Regions from separate parts of the Homo sapiens genome. Here region 2 is linked to region 1. Evidence: promoter capture Hi-C in 16 types of primary human blood cells and fetal thymus (Javierre and others, 2016). All regions are on one chromosome and are shown on one strand. Each heading gives the region's core, a stretch centred on a gene start or on the middle of the fragment in contact. The rest is flanking DNA. Distances are from core to core; before and after follow the strand shown. Region 1 holds the start of CTB-3M24.3 (a long non-coding RNA gene). Region 2 has its middle 47 kb from the start of FSTL4.

Region 1 (6,206 bases), core at 2,162-4,661:
ACGAGGACTGGCTAAGGATGGAGGAAGGCAGTTAGAACCATCCTGGGGTGGGCAGGTGTGATGGTTAATTTTCACAATCAGTGCCTGGTCCTGCTGACTGTATTTTTCCTAAGTGATTCTCCGGTCTGCCCACTCCCCCGATTCAGGCTTCTGTGTGGCTTTGTTGAATGTCCTCGATGCCTCCTGCTGGGCCCCTGCCTCCAGGGTCACTCTGTCCCAAGGGCAACACAGGTGATCTTTCTGAACACCAGGCCTATGGTTTAAAACCCTAGAATGCTGCCTCCCCTTGCATCCAGGAGAAAGTCCACACTCCTTAACCTGATGGTCCAGGTCTGGCCCCAGCTTGGCCAAAGCTCCTTTCCAGGCTTGCCCTTGCTGCTTTCTCTCTGCCCTAAACTCTATATTTGGAGAAACACCAATTGGCTTGTGGCTCCCCATGCTGGCTTCATATCCTAACCCTTGGCCTAGAAGACTCCCCTCCTCTTTCTCTAACCCATTTCTCATCATTTAGTACTCAGTCCAGATGGCACCCCCTTTTGGAGGCCTCCCTGTTCCTTCCATAACAGACTGGACGTGCTCCGTTGTCGCGCTCCCCACCCTGGTTTACAATAGGCAGGGGGTGTGTGTCCCCTCTCAGCTCCCCATGGGCAGGGCCCTCTCACACTCCTCTTGGACCCCCGCCACCGGGCCCTCGACTAGGCCTGGTACACAGCAGGCACTCAGCACTGTTTGTTGAAGCAATGAAATGCGGAATTGCAGAATCCTGCCAAGGTATGAATGGCCCAGATGCAAGAATCACAGATCTTTCTATGAAATCGTGAAACACAAGAATGAAACTTGATCGGTGCAGTGTTGAAAACAGGGACCACTACTTTACTATCCTCAGGAGTGTGAACAAACAGGCAGGATGAGGTTTAGAGCACATGCCGGTACCACTCATGGGTTCCTGTGTGATGTACACTAGAGAAGCTCTATCCCTGATCACACCCACCCTGAATTCCTTTTCCAAGACTGCCATCTCGGGCTGCCCCACAGGCTCCTGGTCCCCCTAGAACCCAACATGGGCTGCACAGAGGCTGAGTCCACTGGCAGCAAATCTAGTTAGCAGCTCGGTCCTGAGCCCACCCTGTCCACTGGCTCCTCTGAGGTGAGCCATACATAGTCCCCGGCTTTTTGCTAATTTTGAAAAAGGGAGAGACTGCGCAGGTGCTCACTGCAAGGCCTCCTTCCTTTTTTAATTACAGGAATCATTATATACATAGACAGTGTGGCATAGTAGAAGGAACAAAAACAACAAAGAAACAAAGATTTTCAAAAACCATCACAATTTCTTTGTCGAGTCAAGAGTGGCTAACAACACGGGCACATGTCAGCTACACGTGCAGAAAGTTGCCTTCAGAACACAAGTGAGAGTGCAGGCACAATCTGCCCAGTTGCTGAATGATAATCACTATGTGTGTGTGTTTTTTTTTTAAATTATACATGTAAGAGATGTGGCAGAGCAGACAGAGCAAAGACAACATTTAACATTTCAAATCAGTCTTTATTGCAGCTCTCCTCCTCACCGGTTGAGTGGTGTTGGGCAAGTCATTAAACCTCTGTGAGCCTCAGTTTCCTCACCTGCCAAGTTAGGGGTAATAACAGTCCTTACCCTGAAGGGCTGTCACAGAATTAAAGAACAGAAAGTGCACAGAATGCTCAGCCTTGGACCTGGCATGTCACATGGGCTCTTTGAGTTAGTTGTTACCCTGCCCTCCATTCTCATCCAATCTCTGGTTTTTTAAAAAGGGTAGGATGTGTAAAATCACAATCATTTGCTGCAAAGCTTGATGATTATAATCACAGCCAGCAGAGTCTCCGTGGGGCTATAGCCACAGGAATCCTGGTGGTGCCTTCACTCAAGTTCTTTCCTTCCCAGCCTTCTAGACAGGCACGCTCAACTGTGCATCTTGTTTTGTGCCAACTGTTTCTCTAAATTAGTATATGGGCTTCTGTCAGCATGTTTTACAGAGAGAAACCACATTTCTCAGCAGTGGACTTTGCCTTCCTTTTGTATAGATTCCCCATTTCTTCAGGTCTTCCTGATACCCACAGTTGTTTACCCTGAGAACCACAAAAGTTTTTAATATGGAAAGTTTGTTCCTTTAAAATTGCTAGGAGAATGTTTATTGAGACAAGCCTGGCACATAAACGAGATCTTCATGTCACTGAAATTTGGCAGGGGGCAGAGGTGGGGACACTGGCGAGAAGGAACCCAGGCAGAAGTGGAGAGACAGAAAGGTGTGACCGAGAAATATGGACGTTTTTCTTCCTGTGCAACGAAGCCCTCACCCTGTGTTTCACGTGGCATTGGCGGGGACTTTCTTCCTTTGTAATGTGCTCACTGGGGTTGTCACGTCACATAGCCACGTGGAGACAGCCACTGAAGTTCAAAGACAAGATGGGTGTAAATGTGATTCATTTCATTAAAACAACTGGATATACAATATTTGATGTCTGCGGTAACTCTAACTTCTCCTCATTTCCCTTTAGGGGAGTGAGAGTTTTTAGGTACCTGCTGTCTGATCAGTTGCAAGTGCCAAGTCTGGTGGAGGAGGAAGGAATGCAGCCATAACATCAGCAAAGCTGCATGAAGTCTTTCCCTCTGCTGCTGCCCCTGCCCTGTACCTGGTTGTTCATGTCCCACCCACCCACTCTTCCAGGTTCAGGTCAAGCCCCACTCCCTGACAAATATCTCTCCTAATCATGGGAGTGGCCACTGACACACACTGAAAGGGGATGGGCAGGTGCCAGTACTGGTGCCGTCATTTACAAGTCCAGTAACTGGGAAAGTTATCTGGCTTCTCTTTGCCTCTCAGTAAACACCAACTAGGAAAAGGAGTGCATGAGATGACGTCCATACAGCCCCTGGCGGTGGGCTGGCAGCCTGGCACATTCTCCGTGAATGAGAATGTGTATTTCCCATGATCCTATCCACCCCACCCTGATGGCCATTCCTTCTTTTCTGCAAGGCTGTGTCCCATGGTGGCCCTTTATTGCCTTGGGGGTTGAACTTCTACCTCTATCTCTTAACAGGGCAGCTCTTCTACCTTCTTTGCCTTTTCTTGGCAACAGAATTTGGCTCTTATGCATTTCTCTCTAATTGGTTAATCACATTGTATTGACTGCAACATTAGAACCAATAGTTCAGGCCTTCCCAATTGTCCTGACCATGTCACTGGCATACTGACACACGCCCATGAACAAAGGCTTCATCACACAAGGAAGACACACTATGACCCGCTGCGGTTTTCTTCCACTTCAGTTGTAGCCCTGCATGCTTTCTGGGGAGCACACTCTAGCCACCGAGATGAAGGCACGGGGAGGCCCGACCGTAGGTCGAACACGTCAGTCAGTGGCTGATCCTTCCCATGGTCTCTGGATACACCAGTGAAGGCAGGAGGTGAAGTCTCCCAGATCACCTGGGAACAGCCATGGACACTTGTCTGGGGCTGCATGAGGTTTGTTCTGGGCTCTGATGGAATATTGCCCTCATGTATGCTTTTTAACATACCGAGTCAAGGATTATGCAGGATCTGTTGAAATTCCAATAAGTCAGTCAAGAAAATTAAGCGCACTTAACCTCATCATTTACCCTTTGCAATTTTTGGTAACTATATTTGAAAAAGTTATTTAGACACCTTCTCATTTCAAGAGCCTCTGTGCTCACCTAAGCCTTGAGTTCCTCTTTGTCAGATTCTCTGATTTCTCTGTAGAATGTGAAGGGTTCATCTTTCACTTTTTTTCCCAGCCAAGAGTACACGGATGGTGTATTATTTGAACCCTTGCCCAGCAGAAAATACTTTTTATTCTTTCCATACATGGATCACCATTTGATAAGTGTAGAATTCTTGCATCATGGTCTTACCACCCCAAAATTCTACCAATGTTCTTCATTGCCTTCTTGCTTCTTAATATCGCAGAAAAGTCCAAGAACAGAATGTTTTTTTTCCTTCCTACCAGACAGTGTCTGAGACTCACCTTTGACACAAATGTAACTGAAGGGGAGAAGCTGCCCCTGGGCAAGCCGGTCAGCTGAAACCACTCAAGAGCCCCCAGTGCAACACCAGGTAGGACTTTTTTTTTTTTTGTCTGCTTTGTTTTTCTCTCTCTGGATATTTCAGATCACTTTAATTTTTTTTTTCAAAACCTAAAATGTCAGCAATTATATTTTGACTTATTTGATAGATCTTTCAGTATAGGGCACTTATTTTTTTGGATCTCTCTTTGCTTATTGTGTCCATTTGAATTGCTCTGAGGTCTTTAAGATAACCAATCACTATTATTTTAAATCTTTTATCTCTGTCTTACATAACTATCATCCTCTCCCACAGTATTTTTTAAATCTTCTTCTCATTCTCGGTGTATTTGGGGAGCGGTTTTCAAGTTTGTTCCCTGTATTGGAACAACTATGATTTCTGTATGGTTAATCTTTCCTTTGACTGCTTGAAGTGGAGAAGGAACTTCTGCAATTGTATTTCAGGTTCTTTATATTCTTTCCTTACCTCCCCCAGCTTCCATTTTATTTTTGACTGTGGCTCAGCCAATTTACAATCCCATTTTTTATCTCATTTCAGAGTTCATGTTTTCTTGCATTGGGAGTAGAACACAGTTGCTGTCTAAAATGAGCTTCTGTTTCTTGTAATAATTTTTCCCCAAAGCATGCTCTTTTGCTGCATCTTAAGTGTGTGCTCTCCTCCTCCTCTGTTGCAGAAGCCAGCTTCCCTTTCATTCGTGTTCAGACAGGTCTGTTCAGGCTTCACCTCTGTTTACTCTCACTGCAGCCCAGTGAGATTGACCAGACTGGAATTACAGCTAAATCCATGGTCACTGCCACGACATATTGCATCTGGAGAGGGGTCTTAACTTCCCTGTAACCAGCATTCATGGCTAAACAGTTGAGAGACGCCCTTGAAAATCTGGAGTTCTGCAGGTGGGTGGGAAGGAGAACAAGCAAGCTCACTCTCTGCGGAATTAGGATGATGTGTCACTGACCCTTTCTGACACCCCTGCCCCTACCCTGGTGTCCCCTTCTGAAACCTCCTCCTTTGTCTAGGGTATTTCTTCTTTTGTAGCTTTATAAGAGACATCTTCCTCGCCCCTGCTTTCCTGTCCATCACCCACCTATCCAGAAAGGTTCTGCCCTTCATATCCTCTGATGTCTCTAATCTCGGGTTCCCCAAATCATTGGACAAGCTTGCACGGGGAAAAGACTAAAGTCTCAGCTATGAGGACTCATGCAGACCTGGGTCTGTACAAGCTCCACCTGACTGGATATAAGTAAAGATCTCTGAAAATCCCTATAAAAATACCTTGGGTTTATTATATTTTGATGGAAATATGGATCACTGGATGAGCATCTGAGAAACAGAGACAAAGATGGGGTGGAGGAAGGCAGAAAGAGACAGAGATGTACAGGTGTATTGGAGGAAAAGTCAGAGAGCTAGCCAGGCCGAATGAGTGAGGGAGGCAAAGGCTCAAAGAGGCATTTGCTGGACCACTGTAGACCAGGCCTTTGGGCATACCTTAGCCAACTGAAGGGGGCATGGAGTGCACTGAACACAAGCAGTGGAAGAGAAAGCACAAGTTCCCTAAGGAAGACAAGAAAAGAGACATGGCTGCTAAGTCCCTGGATGAGCCCTTTTTTCCAGCTACAAAGAGAAGTGCACAACTGAGATCACCCTGCTTATAATAAGTGGACGGAGTTCACTGCATCTGGCTATTTTAATTACCTGCAAGCAAAGTGATTTTGCTACTTTCCTTTAGAGGAGCTTTTTGAAAGTAGTTTTCACTCTGATTACTTTCATTAACAAGTGATCAAAATGCATCAAAGCAGAAATGAGCACAACAAGAAGAAAAGCAGAGGGAAGAACTCTCTAGGAGATGTCCAAACTCAGTAGTCACTGTTAAGCTCTGTCTTCCCTCATTAGCCTGGAGAATACATGTGTTCTGGATCTGGCCCTCATGAGGCACCCAGGTGCAGGACTGGGCACAAGCTCACCTACAATCAGGAAGCATGGGTGGTTCCCGGAGACCCAGGATGCTGTACAGGGCTGGGCCCCAGCTTTCTGTAGTTCTGTCCCTCAGTTCTCCTGGCTGAGGACTCAACTCCACAGACCTTACATTCAGTTGTTTGGTGTGGTCTTGTTCCTCCTTCATCCAATGAG
Region 2 (6,206 bases), core at 1,098-3,597, 270 kb after region 1:
TGAGACTCAGGGGGAATACAGCCAAGGCACCAACAGCTTCTGCTTGAGCGTTCTGGGTGGAAGGGACATCACACGTCAAGTCTCACAGGAGAGAACAGGCTTGGTGTGCTCAAGGAGCAAAGAGAAGGCTCTGGCTACTGGATTGATGAAGGCAGTGTGTTGAGAATGGCATTAGAGGCCCAGCCAAGTAAGGATGTGTGTGCCTTGATAAGGAATTGGCATTTTACTCTAGGTGTGATGGGGATGCAGGAGAGTGACTTTGATTTGTGTCTTTAAAAGATCACTTTGGTTGTTGGATGGAGAATAGACTGCAGGGTGCAAGAATAGAAGAAAGAAGACCAGGAAGGAGACTGACAATAGTCTAGGTGACGGATACGTTGACTTGCACTAGAGTGGTGTTTTAGTTGTGGTTGGATTCTGGCTATTGTTTAAGTTTACTGTTGGTAAGAATTAATGATGGAATGGTCAGGGGTTATAAGTGAAAGACAAGAGTCATTGACTAAGATGGAGAAGATGAGAGGAGATTCAAGTTCAGAGCAGCAGGTGGGGAAATTCAGAAGTCAGGTTTGGACATTTGGTAAGTCTGAGATGCCTATTAGTAAGTAGATTGTTAAATACAGGAGTCTGGGGTTCAAAAGAGAGTGATGAAGTCCGCTACGCTGTGCTGTAACCCCTCCCACCTTTCCTTGCCACTCAAGGAAAGCCCCCGCTAGACACACAGGGCAGTCTGTAGCACGTGTGGCATTGAGTGGCACATAGTTTGCAAGAAGGATGGTGGACTTAGAAACACGGTGGAGAGCTGTGATGTAGGAAGACCAATAACTCTAAGATGACCAGGAAAAGAGTTAGCCCCAAGAGATAGTAGTTACCATAGCATCCAAGTGACCATGTTATATGAGGTGGACAGGGACTTCTTTTCTTCTTTTGGTCCTCAGGTGCACAGAGTTGAGTACATCACATTGCTCACTTCAGTGCACACAATGTCCATTGGTTCATGAAGGGCTCTTCTCTAGTTTTGTTATTTTATTATTTCTCCTAGTTCCCTGTTTCCATATCTGTTCTTTTCTGCCCATAGGCACCTTCTCTAATGTATGTATTAATGTTACTAGATATCTGGGTATCCTTGAAAAATATGTAGTGTTGTTTTACATGTTTATATAATTCAAAATGTTATACATTTCATTATCCTTTTTTACTCAACACTATTTTAAGATCTATTTGCATTACTAAATGTAAATCTAGCTTACTGTTTTTTGTTTTTTTTGTTTTTTTTTTTTTTTACCAATTTCTGTGTAGTTTTTTTCTAAAACAGATGTATAGACTACATTTTCTCCTAGGGACACCTGGGCTCCCTTAAAGTCCTCCTTCATAAATAATGCTACAAGAAATAACATTTTAAAAAATTAGATTTTAGTAAATAGCCTTTGTTAAGATTGGAAATTTTCCATTTATTCTGGTTTCCTCTGAGTATATTTTAAAATAATGAATATGAATAGGTGTTGAACTTTCTCAGGTATTTCATTTGCATCTCCTAAAATGATCATGAGATTTTTCTTTTATTCCATTAATAGACTGAATCACAGTTATAGATTTTTTAATGCTTACACTTTCTTAAATTCTAACTTGATTGCATGTTTTAAAAGATAAACTGTTACATTTGATTAGCTAATACCATATTTAGGATTTTCACATCTATGTTCATAGGAAATTGACCTAAAATATTCTTTCACTGTATTGTTTTTATTCATTTTTAGGATCAGGTTTATACTAACCTGACAAAGTTATGTGAACAGTGTGCTCTTGATTTCGGATGGTTTGTAGCAACATTTTCAGATTGGGATCATCTATTCCTTGAATGTGTTGCTGAACATAGCTGTAAAACTATATGGAGCTGGAAATTTTTTGGAAAAAATGTGAATGATTTCATTTCAGTTTAAGAGTTATAGTTATACTAAGATCTTTTCCAGAACTTTATCTAGTTCCTCTTTTTATCTCACATTTTTAAAAATTTGCATTTCCTCTTTTATTAGTGTCACCACAGGCTTATCTATTTTACTAGTCTTTCTGAAGAACACTTCCAGTTCATTTCCCATTGTTGTTATTTTCTCTGCATTTATTAATTTCTGCCTATCTTCTTATTTACGTTTTTCTTGTTTATTTGGGTTTACTCTGTTTCCCCTTTGAATTTTTTAAGGATAAAGCTTAACTGTCTTACTTGCATTCTTTCTTAATTTCTAGTAAATTTATTTAAAGCCATAAATTTACCTGAGTGCTGCTTTGAACATGACTCACATAATTTAGCATGTGCTGCTTTCAAATGGTGAATTTTCATTCACCTCTAAGTATTTAACAACTTCTCTTTGGTTTATTGTATAGCCCAATGCTATTTGGGAGTATTTTTAAAATTTCCAGACATATAGGGTTTTAACATTTAATTTAATAGCATCATGGTCAAGAACATTGCATGCATGATGTTGATTCTTTTAAACTTATAAAGCTTTTAAATCTAAGCAAAGCTTATTTTGGGCTTACCACATTATAATTTGTTTGTGTTTGTTCTATATGCATATGAAAAGAAAGTATTTTGCTTATTGGGATACATATGAAGAGATAAATTATATTACTCTAATGTTCCATATCCTTGCTTATTTTTGTATGCTTCAAGTATTAGTTTTTGAGACTGTGTATTAAAACCTGCAGCTATTTTTTAAATTTATTTCCCACCCCAGCTCTGTCAGTTGTTGCTGTATGTCTGTTGATGACACATTATCAGAGGTGTACATATTCGTTATCATTCTATTTCTTGACATATTACTTGTTTTACCAATATATAGCATCCTCATTTTCCCTTTCTAATAGTTTATGCCTTAAATTACTGTCTTTCTGATACTAAAATTTCTATTCTGGCCTATTTCTGGTATATCTTTTCCTATCTTTTCTGTATCCTTTTGTTTCTAATCTATTGTTTGGTTTTTATCTTGATTGCTTGGTTTTTGTCTTTTAAATTCACTTAGAGAGTCATTATACTTTGATTAATGAATGACTTTAAATTATTTACTATTATTGTAATTCCTATTATAAATACATTGTAATATATTAATGTTAATATTAATTATAAAATATATGAACATTTATTTCTGCTTTTTTTATGTTTTCTATTTTCCACATCTTCTTCTTCCCCTTTCCTTTCTTATATTCTATTAAATAGATGGGATTTTCTTCTGCTAGCTTAAAAGTTAAATATTTTATTTTTATTCTTCTAGGAGTTGTGCTTAAGCTATCAAGAACTGTTTCCCCCCTATCAATTTCTTAAGCTATCAATATCTATTAATATTTTTCCTCTAGAAAAATAATTCAGAGAAATAGACAAAAACAAGCCCAAGTTATAGAGAGAAGAAAGGGATTAAGGGAAGGAAATAAAGGAGGGAGAAAGAGGTCAGCAAAGAACAGAACAAAAAGAGACAGAGAGAAATAAGTTGACAAAAAGAAAGAGTTAGGGGCTTAGAGAACGAAGCCAGGAGTTTTGTCTACCCAATATGCTCAAATTCAAACAGTGAGGAAAAAACACTAGGCTTCATTGGTTTCTTTCATGTAATGTCCCTAAATCATTTTCTTTTCTTCTTTTGGTTGGGAAAACATTCCAAATTATTTAATGTTTATTTACTAAGCAGTCACTGTGTTCTTGGCCCTCTTTCAGGCCTGGAGACAAAGCAGTGAAGAAGGAGACCCTCTCCTTTCCCTCCTAGAGCTCACAGTCAAGATCAGCAGCTTAAAAAGCAATTACAACAGAGTAGAGGAAGCATAGGGCACCTTAGGAGCATCCAGCAAGGGAAACCCAGCCCGGTCCATGGGAATTAGGGAAATCCTCCTGTACAAAGTGACAGCTAAGCCGAGATTGGAAGGACATAACTTCTTCACCTGTGGTGCCAGCAGCAAAGACTGGCCTTACCTGCTGCCCTCCTGCTGGCCACAGGCCCCCTGCATCCTATGGGGCTATGGGCAGAACATTCCCAGATGTGAGTAAGACCATGGTGCTTGTGCTCAGCATGGAGTTACGTGTCTACAGCCTACAGAGAACTGAAGTTGTCTCGGTTCAAATGCCCAGGATTCATAAGGTGCCCACCCTGTCCCTCTCCCCAGCCTGTGCCACTGGGTGACTGCAGACTGATGTCATTTTGTTCCTGAGGCCTACTACTTTTCTACAAAGCCTGCCTACCTATTTGCTCAGTGTCTTAATTTTCTTTTACACACAGTCATAGTCACTAATTTTGATAGATTGAGGAAGGAGTCTGTTAAGAAATCTTTGAAGGAAAAAAAGCAATTATTATTGTTTCCAAGGAGTAAATCCAGTGAGGCCTGCCTTGACTGACATCCACGCTGGTTTTAATGAACAGACAGACACTAACCAGTATGGAAACAGGAGAGGAGCTCGTGAGCTCTAGCTTTAGAGACAGCCAACTGTGTTCAAAACTTTATTTTTTTTTACTTTTGTTTTTTTGAGATGGAGTCTTGCTCTGTCACCCAGGCTGGAGTGCAATGGCACGAGCTCAGCTCATTGCAACCTCTGCCTCCTGGGTTCAAGCGATTCTCCTGCCTCAGCCTCCCAAGTAGCTGGGATTACAGATGCGCGCCATCATGCCTGGCTAATTTTTGTCTTTTTGTAGAGATGGGGTTTCACCATGTTGGCCAGGCTGGTCTCGAACTCCTGACCACAGGTGATCCGCCCGCCTCAGCCTCCCAAAGTGCCGGGATTACAGGCGTGAGCCACCGTGCACAGCCTTAAAACTTGATTTTACCGCTTACTGTCACTATGACCTTGGGAAAACCACCGAAGTGCTCTGAACTGCAGGCTCCTGGTTTGTAAAGATATAGTAAGAGCTTCACTCGGTGGCGGTGAGGATTAAACAGCACCATGCCTGGCACACACTTAGCACAGAGCTGGTACTTAATAAAAGCTCAAAAAGGTAATTGCTCAGCATTTGTATTAGTGTAAGTAATAGATGTAGTGTCAGCATTAAACATTAGTATTAGTTTTAATATATTACAGCCTAACCTCATAGTGGCATGACATCATCATGAAGGAGATGATGTCACTATTTTCTCCAGTTAGAAAGGTATTTTGAATAGAGGCTGCCTGTTGTTAATCAAAGCATGGAAAAGTATGAAAAGTGGTTTCCAATGGATGTATAATACCCAATCTACAGTATCTCATAATCATTTCTTAGAATTGGTTTAAACAATAAACAAAGCTCTTGTTTATAAAGATAACTCTGTAATTAAGTGAGGGCATTACAACAGATTCTTTACAAACTTCTGTGTTGTCCTTAATTGGTTTAATTTAAGAATCTAAGGCATCTGGTCACATTTTTATTAACTTGTCCTTATTCATTTATTTAGTCACTCATCGTGTATTCAACAGATATTTGTTGGATTCCTATCAGAGAAGCATATGCACAAAGTAGGCATTCAATTAAAAAACAATTTTATTACCAGAATCCAACCATACATATATGCTTGATTATATTTAAAAATAGAATCAAGTTTGAGTTTTACTTTGCTTAAACTTTACAATAAACTAGCTGAACTATAGCCAGTACATTTTTACTTCTTGAGGATTGTTTTAGAAAATTTATATTTCATTAAACTTTCCAGATTTCTAAAAAGGCTTTAAAAAAATCCAAACTCCCTATATAGTGGCAATGCTATAAATAGATAAGCTCACTAAATAATCATTTCCATTCCTAAAACATGAGCAGCTTTCTTTTCTATCTAATCCTCAATTTTTACATATTTTACTTTTCCATTTACAGTTGAAATGCTCTGCAGTGCCATTAATATTTGCCAAATTACAGTGGATATTTTCACTCTGTAGCTAATCACTTCTGAGTTTACCAAAGTTGGAATGCAATTGGAATTTGTACAGCTTTTCTCCAGATCAGACAACCCTAGCATACAGACCCCCTATGAAGGCATACACCGTGGAGGGAGGAGGGAACGTGACAGCCTGTTGTCCCTGCCAAAATGTTTTCCTAAAAAAAATCTATGGTTTGACAAGTTTAATTACCCTTGATTTTTATTCCTGCCTTTTGGAAACACTGAAATCTTCAGGCCATGAAAAACTTTAGTGTTTGAAATCACAGAATCATTAGAAGAGGACGGCAGAGAGTCAGGTGTGTCCCATTCACAGTTCCAGAGCCCCTGGGAGC

Evidence for each region. Contacts are between HindIII fragments. The CHiCAGO score rates a contact against its expected background, and 5 or more counts as called.
Region 2: a fragment that was not itself captured here is called in contact with the fragment with the promoter of CTB-3M24.3 in region 1 in 1 of 17 cell types (endothelial precursors); the score reaches 8.9 in endothelial precursors.

Annotation. Positions count from the first base shown.
Region 1 is chr5:133,384,471-133,390,676 of GRCh38, forward strand. CTB-3M24.3 (a long non-coding RNA gene) reads left to right here and starts at 3,412. Exons shown (of 3, transcript XR_948794.4): 1 at 3,412-3,500; 2 at 4,003-4,109. All of the region lies in intron 4 of FSTL4 (follistatin like 4), which reads right to left. The HindIII fragment of the contact is 3,410 bases long and covers 1,824-5,233 here.
Region 2 is chr5:133,656,511-133,662,716 of GRCh38, forward strand. It overlaps a transcript of FSTL4 not described here. Among named protein-coding and RNA genes, the nearest start is that of FSTL4, 47 kb to the left of the region's middle. The HindIII fragment of the contact is 296 bases long and covers 2,200-2,495 here.